Regions from separate parts of the Homo sapiens genome. Here regions 1 and 3 are each linked to region 2. Evidence: promoter capture Hi-C in human tissues and cell types (Jung and others, 2019). All regions are on one chromosome and are shown on one strand. The core of a region is centred on a gene start or on the middle of the fragment in contact, and the rest is flanking DNA. Distances in the headings are between cores, read along the strand shown.

What was found. The method cuts DNA at HindIII sites, captures the fragments that hold promoters and counts their contacts. A contact is called where the count stands out against the background at its distance.
Region 1: a fragment that was not itself captured here is called in contact with the fragment with the promoter of APCDD1L in region 2 in 2 of the 25 tissues and cell types used here (H1 embryonic stem cells and thymus).
Region 3: a contact is called between a fragment that was not itself captured here and the fragment with the promoter of APCDD1L in region 2, in 3 of the 25 tissues and cell types used here (IMR-90 fibroblasts, mesenchymal stem cells and mesendoderm cells).

The regions. Positions count from the first base shown.
Region 1 is chr20:58,234,557-58,238,138 of GRCh38, forward strand. It overlaps the pseudogene PPP4R1L. Among named protein-coding and RNA genes, the nearest start is that of ANKRD60, 7.7 kb to the left of the region's middle. RefSeq lists a silencer at 2,569-2,618. The HindIII fragment of the contact is 3,619 bases long and covers 36-3,582 here.
Region 2 is chr20:58,513,647-58,517,292 of GRCh38, forward strand. APCDD1L (APC down-regulated 1 like) reads right to left here and starts at 1,753. Exons shown (of 4, transcript NM_153360.3): 1 at 1,013-1,753. The coding sequence starts at 1,061. It overlaps APCDD1L-DT (APCDD1L divergent transcript), which reads left to right and starts at 1,733. Exons shown (of 7, transcript NR_034147.1): 1 at 1,733-2,094. RefSeq lists an enhancer at 356-1,354. The HindIII fragment of the contact is 21,415 bases long and covers 1-3,646 here.
Region 3 is chr20:58,843,349-58,847,105 of GRCh38, forward strand. It overlaps GNAS-AS1 and a transcript of GNAS not described here. Among named protein-coding and RNA genes, the nearest start is that of MIR298, 27 kb to the left of the region's middle. The HindIII fragment of the contact is 4,082 bases long and covers 1-3,699 here.

The DNA of each region.
Region 1 (3,582 bases), core at 595-3,094, 280 kb before region 2:
CTCAGCCTCCCAAGTAGCTGGGATTAAAGGTGCCCGCCATGACACATTACTTTTTATTAGAGAATTAAATGTGTGATGTGATACCTGGCACACAAGAGGTATTCAAGAAATGGCAGCCATTATCACTGCCATTGCTCCTAGGCAAACATAAATCACACCCTCATTTCCAAGAGGCTGAGTAGAGAGGGCGATCTGAGGAGCTGGACAGGATGATACGAACTCTACACATTTACTCTAAAGAGGTTAAAGTCTCTGCCCTAACCCACTGCCCAATTCTTCATCCTGCCTTCCTTCCAAAGCCACTGGCTAAGGTGAGGTGTAGTGGTGGACACAGACCTGTATAGGAAAGGAGTGGACTGTGGGCCTGGCCCTTATCTTACTGGATGGAAATGTGGGAGAGCAGAGGCTTGTTCACTTTGTCTTTAGCATCTAGAATCTGTCTGGACCATCGTAGGTACTCAATCAATAGCTATGTGGCAAATGAGTATGCCAGTGGGGTAACCCTGGGCAAGTCCCTTCACCACACTGGGTTGGTCCCAATGTCCTGTGAGATAACAGGGCTAGGTGAACTAATTCCTCAGTTCCTGGCTAGTGCTCCAGGCTGAGATTCTCTGTCTGGTGAACTTGATTTCATCACGTGGCAGATGTTACCCAGGGTAGATCCCTCCCGGGGTCTTGCTAACCTGACAAATGAAAGCGAAAGCTTGCCTTCCAACCCACTTAGAACAGTGCCGGAACCTTATGATGAGCTCATTGATGAAATTTAACCCCAATGCACTTTCACTGTTGGAATAGAACTTCTGCAGAATTGCCACGACCTGTGAAAAACATCAAAAGAGCACATTTAAAATGCTGCCATCTATTTGAATTACGAATACTACTCTACACGGAAACTAGACATTTTTATGCATCCTTCCACCTTTAAAATGAATTTATAGGCGCAGGAGAAAGTAATTTTTGTCACGGTCATCATTAGAACACAGAGAAAAAAGATGTTTAAATATAGGCAATACACACACACACATAAAACCCTTCATAAAAATGAAACTTCAAAGGAGACTGACATTAGAAAAATACATTCTTAATCTTAAGGTTCCAAATTTTAGAGCATGTCCCCTTGCTTAATAACTAAATCATTACCTTTCAGAACATGTCATTTTTATAAAATTTTAATACCATCAGAGTATCTTAAAATCAATATTGTCAAATGTGATTTTTTTTCATCAGTATTCAGCTGGTGTAAAGCCCACATAAAAAAATAGGATCAGCTTTTCTACAGCAGAGTCTTTGCTCACTAAATATTTTTCTACAAAACCAAGCTGTAAATCAACCTGTATTTTAAAAACACTAACCTATGGCTTAAAGAGTTTCATATATAAAAGGATTACTCCACAATTGCCGTCACTGAAACATATAACAAAAAAAGCTATCCTACAAATTGATAAAACTATAATATAGTTCCTAATTTCAAATTTTAAAAGCTAGTTTCATAGGTTAGCTGACAAAGTAAGCCCAGAAAAATTAAAAGAGTTAAAATGGAAGATACATCAACATTCCTATTTGTAAAAATCACAGAGCAAATGCCCTGATTCCTTACTAGTTTGAAGGAGATCCACCGAACTTCAGAAACTTGATCTGCACACAACTTTAAGGCAATGTGCATTAGGTAATCATAAACATCATTGGGACTATAGAGTTCCAGAATCAGTATCAGCTGTCTGAAATTAAAAGGAAAACAACAACAACAAAAACAACAACAAAAAAAACATTATTTTTGGGCAAAAAAACAAAATTATTGATTTCTTTTTACTGTTATTTCATCTTACAGATAAAAATAGCCAGGCTGGGAAATGAACAGCAAAAGACCCAGCAAGATTTCGGTCTTCAGTAAAATGCCAACAGCAGAAAGCTGAGCAAAATGACCATGCAAAAAAAATGTGAACAAAATTTTAATTCTTCATCTCACACACATACAAATCAAACAAAAAGGAAATAAACTCTGTAAAATAGAGGCTGAGAAATTTATGAATACAGATTTAATATTTCAATTTTAGGTTATCAGTTGAAAAGCACATAAAACTTTAAAAATCAGATAACATAAAAATAGCCAGAATGTTGAAGTTCACAAAGGTCAACAGATCAAGCGAACACTCTGAGATTGCACGACCGCCCCGGCGTTTCTCCGACTGCAAACCGAACCGGATGCTCCTGCTCGCGGCTCTTGGCAGCACGAGGTGGTTTCACTGCAGCGAGGTCCGCTTGGAGAGAACTGGGAGCGCGTGCTCCTTACTCCGAAAGACAAAAGCATGCAGGAGACGGCTGGCTGCGAAAACCCACTACCAAAGCTTTCACTACTTTCTAAATGGGGATGGGGAGAAGGGCATGAAAATAAATGACATTGCTTTCACCCAGGCAACGAAAGGAAATGAAAAAGAGATGGGGAGGAAGTTAGAACCAGAAGCCCGGAGTGCTGGTGAATACTTTCATATCAAAAAGCACCGTTTTCAAAAACATGATACCAATATCATGGGCACCGGAGCACAGAATTCATATCAGTCGCTGTGGCTTCAATAAGCCGGGAGATGGGAGATAGGGCGCGTAGGGGGCTAGATAACGTGGTCGGGCACTGGGGCCGCGCAACCACCCGGGGAAGCCCCGCCGGGCACCGAGCGCGCCTACTTCCCGTGCGCCGCCGCTAGAGGTCGCACTGCTTTCATGGAAAACGTGGGCCTGTTTTTCTCGACTCAGAACAGGATGCTGGGAACATGGTAAAATGACTGAAACCTCAATCTCTCAAATTAAGCAGAATGATTAAAGACCACAGCAAAGAGAAAGGCTTTCGGTTTGCCCCTGGCATCAGCCAAATCATATCCTGAATAGCTGCAAAAGCCTGATGAATTTATTCAGGGAAGACAATTATTTGAGAGATTTCTAGTTGTGGATGAGAAAAATGAAAACTAAAGACACCGAAATGAAAACAAGGTAAAAACTAAAACCCAAACAACAACTGCCACAAACAAATTCCCTCCACACCGTGAAAGGCACATTATATACCTTAGGAAGGGGAGTTATTTAAACTGATGCTTCCACCCTTTCATCATCACTAAAGCCTGGAACATTCCTTTTGCCAGCTCAAGACAGAATTAAATAACTCCTTCAGGCACAAAATGATGTGCAGATAGGAGCCACCTTGGGGAACCTTTTTGTTTCATAATCATCTCATCTGGGTTAGACCCCTTCCTGTCTCCCACAGTAGCTAAAGGGCATTAAGCATGCTGTACCCTACGGAGAGGACCACACTCAGAATGTTCAGGAAAGCTCTGGTAAAAACTGCTCCGATTAATAGGAAAACACTGAAGAGTGGGTGATTCATCTTTTATTTGGTTCAAATAAATTGCCTTCTAGAACAGCAGAACACTCTAATTCGAAAGTGACTCAAGCCCTGTCTTCATCTGAAAATGAATGTCTCCCCGGAGACTGTGGTATTTGTAACTCAGGGTTTTTGGAATTCTGTTTATACCTTAATAAAAACATAATCTCTTTATCTAAAAGAACACTATTGCTGCTGCTTTAGAAATCAAT
Region 2 (3,646 bases), core at 503-3,002:
TCTCGGCTGCCATTCCCTGAACATGAGCTCAGTGCCAGGCAGCAAGTGGAGTGATCCTCCTGCACGTGCTCTCGTAATCTTCACAATCATCCCAGACGGAGGAGGGGATTTTGTGAGCCCATTTGACAGGAAAGAAAGTCAAGGCTGAGAGAGCCGATGGCCATGCTTACCCAAAGCCAGACGGGTTGATATGATGTTGATCTGGGCTTCCCAGCCAGGTGGTCTAACTCCAGGGCCAGAATTCTCAGCCATTCATAATGTGAGGGTGCTTGGGGATGAGCCCCCAGCTGGGCACACTTCAACTGTGGTTACTGTCATTTTTGTCAGTGGTGACTGGGCCCCTGTGATGGCACACTCCAGTCAGCTGGCCTTTGTACAGTTTTGTCTACCCTACTCCCCACCCCCACGAAGAGCCACCAGGGAACCCCTTAGTCCTGGAGAAGGCATTGACTACTCTACCAGGGGTTCCTGAAGCCCCTTGGTCCCCTTTGTCAGGCCTGCTGGGCACAACTCGAGCCTGGGGTCACTGCGCGCTCCCTAGCTTCTCCCCGAGTCCTGCTGCAGGAAGAAGCCCCGACCCCGCACAGGTCAGGATTCCGTGGGCAAAAACAACCCCAGTAACCTTGGTCTGAATAGCCGGGCTTGTCCCGCACCATGGGGGTCTCAGTGGGCCTGGGATCCTCCTGCATCTTCTTGGAGGCCCCGGTCCCACTGGGCCCGGCACAAAGGGCAGCTCTGGGTACCTACAGGCCAGGCCCCGACTGGCGCAGAGAGTGCAGCGGCTCTCATATTGCGAGGTGACGCGACTCCCTCCCGCAGGCCCCAGGAAGCTCCTGGAGGCGCGCAGGTGCCGGCCAGGTGAGACTGGAGAAAGGCGCGCAGGGCGCAGCATAGCAGCCGCGTGGGCCGACCCAGGGCCGTAGTCCCCAAGGGCCCTTAGGGGACATTAGACGGCGAGCTCCCTCCCTTCCGAGCTCAGCCAGTTTGCCGGGTGGGGGAGGGTGGCACCTACCTCCCAAAAGCACCAGGACGCAAGCGTAGGGGAGCATGGCTGCGGGCATCCCGTCGGGGCTGGCAGGACCGCCCGCCGGGCGCTGCCACGGTGCGCAAGGGGAGGCGCGGGCGCAGGGCTCTCGGACGGCTGCGGGCGCCGGCGGCCAGGCTGGAGTCCTGCGAAGAAGTTGCGAGGGTCCTGCGCCCCCCTCGGCGCTCACACGCGCTCAGCCTTCCCGGCTGTTGATAGTTGTAAGCGGAGCTGCGCACTCATAGGTCCAACTTGCCAGAAGAGGTGGAGACAGCCCCCGGCGAGGCGCGCACACCCGCGCAGCGCGCACAGCCCCCTGGTGCAGCTCCTGCCATTCAGACCCCCAGCCCTCCCCCAGATGTCCGTCCCCTGGCCGTCGCCTTCCCCAAAGTCTTCGCAGTGGGCAAGGAGGCCTCCCCCAAGCTCTGGTCCCGGCCAAGGCAGAGCGATGCGCTCCTTGCGTCAAAGCGCACCCCTAGCCAGGCCGTTCCCTGGAAGGGCAAGCGGGGCGGGGAGTTCCTCTAAGCCCCGCCAGTCCTGGGACCCCTGAAGTTTCTATTCAGGTCTTCCAGCTACTCCTGGAAAAGTCGCGTCAACTTGGATCCCAGCAAACCCAGAAGCGCAGTGAAAGTGGCCAACCCGGTCGCCTAGAAGCCAGCCCCGGCCTCTGTCTGTAAATGAGGCCGTCACCCGCTCCCCACCACACCCAAACGCATCTAGGCAAAGTGTGGACCCGACCAGGCGGGTTTTCCTCCTTCTCGCAACTCCTCCTCCTGCCCCCCTCCCTCCCAAATCTCATCTGAGTGAGTCAGCTGAGGGTGGCAGCTCAGAAGCGAGGCAGCCGTGAGGCGGAGGACAGGCTGGGGGATCCCAAAGGGTGCGCTCCAGCCCCCAACCCAGGCACTGGGACTCTGGTGGCACCCTGGGTGGCAGGCAAGCCTTGAAATCAAGTGCACGAGCCTTGGAAAGGAGGACCGGGAGAGTTATGGCATTTATGAATGAAGAAGAGAAAGAGAATCACTCGGATGGGAAAAGTTAACTGGATTGTTCCCACCTGCATGGATCACCGGGTAACTGCAGTGGGACCGAGGGGGCGAGGCTGCGGGCTGGGGATGTGCGGGTTTCCTTGTGTTGCCACGAACCCAGAGAGGGAGAGGAAGAAGATGGAAAGAAAAAGGAAAAAGGGAAAGAAAGTAAGAGGGGAGAGAGGGGAAAACTGAGGATGAAGAGAGACAGAGAAGAGAGACCTGAGAGAGGGAGAGAAAGAAAGAGACAGAAAGAGAAATGAAAGTGAGGAAAGGGGAAACAGGCAGAGAAAGAGAGAGAAAGGGGAGGAAAGAGAAAGGGAAAAGAAAGGAGGGAGTGAAATCAACAGAAAAAAGAGAACCAGGAAGGAGGAGGGAGGGGGAGAGAGAAGAGAGAAGAGAGAGAAGAGAGAACAAGAGAGAAGAGAGAAGAAGAGAGAAGACAGAGATGCGGTCTCCCTGGGGAAAGGTTTGGAGAACTGGGCCAGGCCTGTTTCCCGGGACTCACGAGTGAGCAGTCCACCTGCCCCTCTGAAGCATTTTATAGACTCATTTGTCCCACTTTTGTGGGCTGATCATCCCACAGGGGAACAGGGGACACCACCTCACCTTTTGATTTCTTACCAGAAACTTGGGCGAGGCTTCCAGGAGCCACAAGAGCCCTTCAATCCACCCAGGGACCCCCGATGTGGGCCCACCAGCCATCCTTAGCTTTCCTCCTCTCCAGAGGCAACAGGGAATAGGAAAAAGTCCAGAGCAAGGCCACACCATGATCTTAACGCAAATGGAAATGTGAGGAAAACGATCAATTTGCTTCCTGAAAATGACATTTTTTTTTTCTGGTTTCTATGAGACTCGAGGTGGCCTTGCTGAAACTGAAATCGGTATGAGCTTTCCCTGGCAGACAATGGCCATTGTCACATATTAAATTCTCATGAAAGGGATAACTTTGTGGGCAAGAGGAGAGTTGTGCAGGGTGATTATTTATACTTGCATAATTGTGATTATTTGTGGCAATTATGGGTCTTTCAATGTACAAAATTTACAATTATGGGTAGTTTAAAAACTACATGCTAAGGCCGGGTGCCGTGGCACACACCTGTAATCCCAGCTCTTTGGGAGAGCCAGACGGGTGGGTCACCTGAGGTCAGGAGTTTAAGAGCAGCCTGGCCAACATGGTGAAACCCCGGCTCTACTAAAAATACAAAAATTAGCTGGGCGTGGTGGCGGGCGTCAGTAATCCTAGCTACTCCAGAGGCTGAGGCAGGAGAATCACTTGAACCTGGGAGGCGGAGGTTGCAGTGAGCTGAGATCATGCCATTGCACTCCAGCCTGTGTGACAAGAGTGAAACTCCATCTCAAAAAAAAAAAAAAAAAAGTTAAAACTACATGCTATTCTGGCCATAATCATTTGAGACTTCAGTCTCTGGGCTTTCCGGATGTGGGTATTTCAAAGTCCCAGGCGGCTGATGGGGGTTCACGCATTAGTGGCATTTTGTGGGGAGAATGGGTGTTACATTGATGTCCTACATAGGGTCATAATTCAGTATTTTCAGAACTTATTGTACTGCTGTTAGAGATACGAACTTTTCCACAA
Region 3 (3,757 bases), core at 409-2,908, 330 kb after region 2:
GACAGGATTTTGCTATATAGACTTCGCAAACCTTCTCTCTGCCTGAGAGACTGGTACTCAGCTCCTTCCTTTTCCAGAGCCATTTTTAGCAACTTCCCCAAGCATTCCCAACTCACTAGTCTCCCAGCTGGCCCTTTGCCCCACCCTGCTCAACTGGGGTTAGCATCTGAATAGGCCCACTTGCCCCTTTTACATAGGTGAGGTCTGCGGGGTGAGGATAGGCTCCCAAGAAAAAGCAGATCTTATGGTGAACCACATAGGTGAATTACCAGCCACTTTTAATATTTCAAATGGAGGGTGAGGGAGGAGGAGGAGCAGGAGAATAAAGCTAGCTAAACATGATGATATGCCCCCAATATTGAAGTTGTTTCCTTTAGTACATTAATCATTTGCTTAATGGAAATTTGCTTTTGTGGGGGAGGGGAGGGCGACCCAAAGGTGCTCTTGTAACTGAACTTATCTGAGCTGGGAATTTATGTTGCAATGTTCCAATATTGTGTGGGGTCAACCTGATGTAGGTTTAAAGTTTTGCAAACAAAACTCTTTTATGTTCATCAGAATTCAAGAATTAGAAATGTTACAGTTTGGGATTGTTTTGAGATGTTTCTTTAATGCACTGCAAGCCTTTCTCACCCTGGAGTTGCTTACAGCCTTTAACTCTTCAGCCTTCATTTTCTGCAGCTGTGTGGAAGGTTAAGGAGGAAGAAAGCTGAAACTTCAGTGTTGGTAAGAATGAGGTTTTTTGGTTTTTTAATAATCTACATGGATTTACCTCAATTATCAGTTATTATTATACTGCTCTTCAAGAAGAGGGAAGCTTTTGAGAGGAAACTGAGCAGAAACCATGGTGTGAGTAAAGCATGTCTCCTAACTGCTTACCTGGAAGGTGACCTATCACAAAAACCAAATCACTAAAATAAAATTAAGCTTCCAGGCCAGTGATGTCATGTGCTGGCTCAACTGCTGCTCTTCTCTAAAAAATCACCCAGCAGAGGGATGAGATGCTCAAATGACATCTTTAATCCCCATGTTCAAGAATGAGAGATGGAATTTCTTGTTCTGTTGTGGGGTTTTGACACTAATGACTCTATTTCCTATAACTTGATGTCCCAAACTGGAGCAGTGGGATCTAAGACGAAAGGCCCAGGGCTAGCAGCCCAGGTTGCTTCTAGCCATGGTCAAGTGGCCTTAGGTCAGACCCAACACCCCTCTGCCTCAGTTTCTTCTAAAATGAGATCGCTGAATGAGATGATCCTATTTATCCCTTTCAGCTCCAAATGTCTAGATTGATTAGCTTAAGAAGCCTGGGGTTGTCCAATTTGACTCTACACTAGTGATTTAACCCTAATGGAACTCCCAAAAAACATCGAAAGTTGCTCAAATAAAAAGCACCAGCTAGGTATCGCGCCATTGCACTCCAGCCCGGCCTACAGTGTGAGACTCCATCTCAAAAAAAAAACAAAACAAAACAACAACAACAACAAAAAACCCCGAAAAACAAAAAAAGCACCAGCTAGGAAGAAATCTGTTTTGTGTTGGCTTCATGTAAATTTTGTCAAATCTGCTTTACAGTTGGTTGCAAAATGGTCTCAAAAGGCAGTTTAGAGAATGCAGAATTCCACTGTGTCCTTTCCCTAAACTGGAAACACTTAGCCATCCTGAGAGTCGTATTTAGTGTGTGTTTTACGTGTGTGTGTGTGTTCCCCACCTTCTGTCCCTGACCTTGGTGTCTAAGAACAAGCTTTTCAGAGCAGGAGCAGGCAGCAAGGTTGCAAGTACTGACCTAGTACTGCAGCTTGGAGAGGCTAACCACTGTGGGGGACGGCAGACTGATGGGAACATTGGTTGAGTGACCACAAGTGCTGTTGAAAGTTTTTTGGTAACAGTTTTAAGTGTTTTGGTTAAGCTAGACCTGAAAAAAATGGTATAGAAGCTACAGCTATTTGAGATAAACCAGTTTTCTCAACCTTTGTTTTTTTCATGATCACTCCCCTCTTCGCTTCTTCAGACATATGCTTCTTACTTGCCCCTCCCCATGACATTTTAATACCATGGACATACAGCTAGACCCCACTGTCTGTTTATGCACTGCAGGACCTTGTCACAGCTAAGACTTGTTTGCGCACCGCATCCCCCAAAACCAGTTTTGCCTCCATCATACATGCATGGGATAAACAAAGCAAGCATTTCAAAAACAAAAAAATCTGGTTCTGTCAAATTAAGTGATGTAGCACCCATTTTTGTTTTATAATTTCTTTCTTACATATCAAAAGGCCATATGTGGGGGGTGGGGGGCATAAATTTTTTACTGGTATTTGTTTTCTTTCCCTTGTTTAAAAATCTCATGAGTTTTTTCAAACGCCTCCAATAGCTATGCTGGTCCAAGCACTAGTGGCCATTAATTCACAGGGCAGAGAAGCCAGAATAAACAGCCTAGTGACTTAGTTCTCCCAAGGCCAAGAGCCTGCAATGCGGGGCCACCATTACCTGTTGACAGTGCTCAGCCAGCAGAGGCAGGACTCTGCCTGCAACTATTCCCGGGTAGAAATGGGGAGGCTGCCTTCCCAGCTCCCACTGGGCATAGCCTGTGTGTTTATTTTTTGTGTTTATTTTAGGGTAAGTATGTTACAAATTAGCAGGGCACATGGCTATGAGAAAGGCCAACATAAACCCAGGCAGCAGGGACAGAGGGTAAGTGGTGACAGTAAAGTGGGGAGAGATTTAAGGAAGACAAAAGGAAAAGAAGAATTTGAGGGATCACAGAAAAAAAGGAAGATGTGGGTAGATAAGAGAACCCCTGGGAAGGAGCAGAAAAGAAGATTTAGAAATGGGGAAGGGGGTCACAAAGCCAGGAAATTTGGCGGTTATAAAGAAAGTCGTTTGAAGGAATAAAGAGAGTCTTGAAGAGAGAAAGGTTGAGGGCAGCTTCAAGTATCTGGTGGCTAAGGGGGTTAGAACCAGGTGCATCAAGGGACAGACTTCAGCTCAACATTAGGAAGGGCATTTTTAAAAGCCAAATATGGCATTGGAGGGCTACCAATGAGGCTCACAGATTCGACACCATTAACATCACTGTCCCCCTGAGAGTTTCGTACAGACCTGGTCCAAAAATTCCAATTTCATAGGTGTGGAGTTTTCATACAAGTACTTCAATTGCTACACTCAAAGAGAAAGATTTAACACCTAGAAATCTAGCTGTCTAGCTCCAAGGCTAAAGCTTTGGGTTTTGGTTCACAGCAAGGTTGGTCTTCAAGGTCCCCACTCTCAAACTTGAGGGGTCCAAGGGGCACAGGCCAAAGACCGGCAGCCAGCAGAAGACCACGTTTCTTCTCCCCTCAACCCCATGTGAGAGCTGGTTTCTGAGTGTCCTGGCTTATGTCGCTGTCTTAATTAGATTTCATTAGGAAAATTTGCCCTGGGTAATTGAGGTTGTTCTAGAAGGTGAAATATACCATTCCCCTTAAACAATGATGCCCAGAAGCCCCCAGGGTGGCTGGAATTCCCACTATGAATTGCAGAAATTTTAAGCAGAGCTTCCACTAAAGCCAAATTTACCTTCCGAGATTCCCTCTTTCCCCTCCAACCCCCACTTTTGCCTCTCTCTTAGTTGCTTTCCCATGGTGCTGTTCATCTTTTCTGGAATGGCCTCTCCTCCCCTGAAATTCTTTGCTGCATCATCAGCTAGTCTGGAGAAGGAATCCACAAATGTCTGGACCCACTGTTCAAGCACAGGTGGTCAGAGGACAGTGGCATGCCT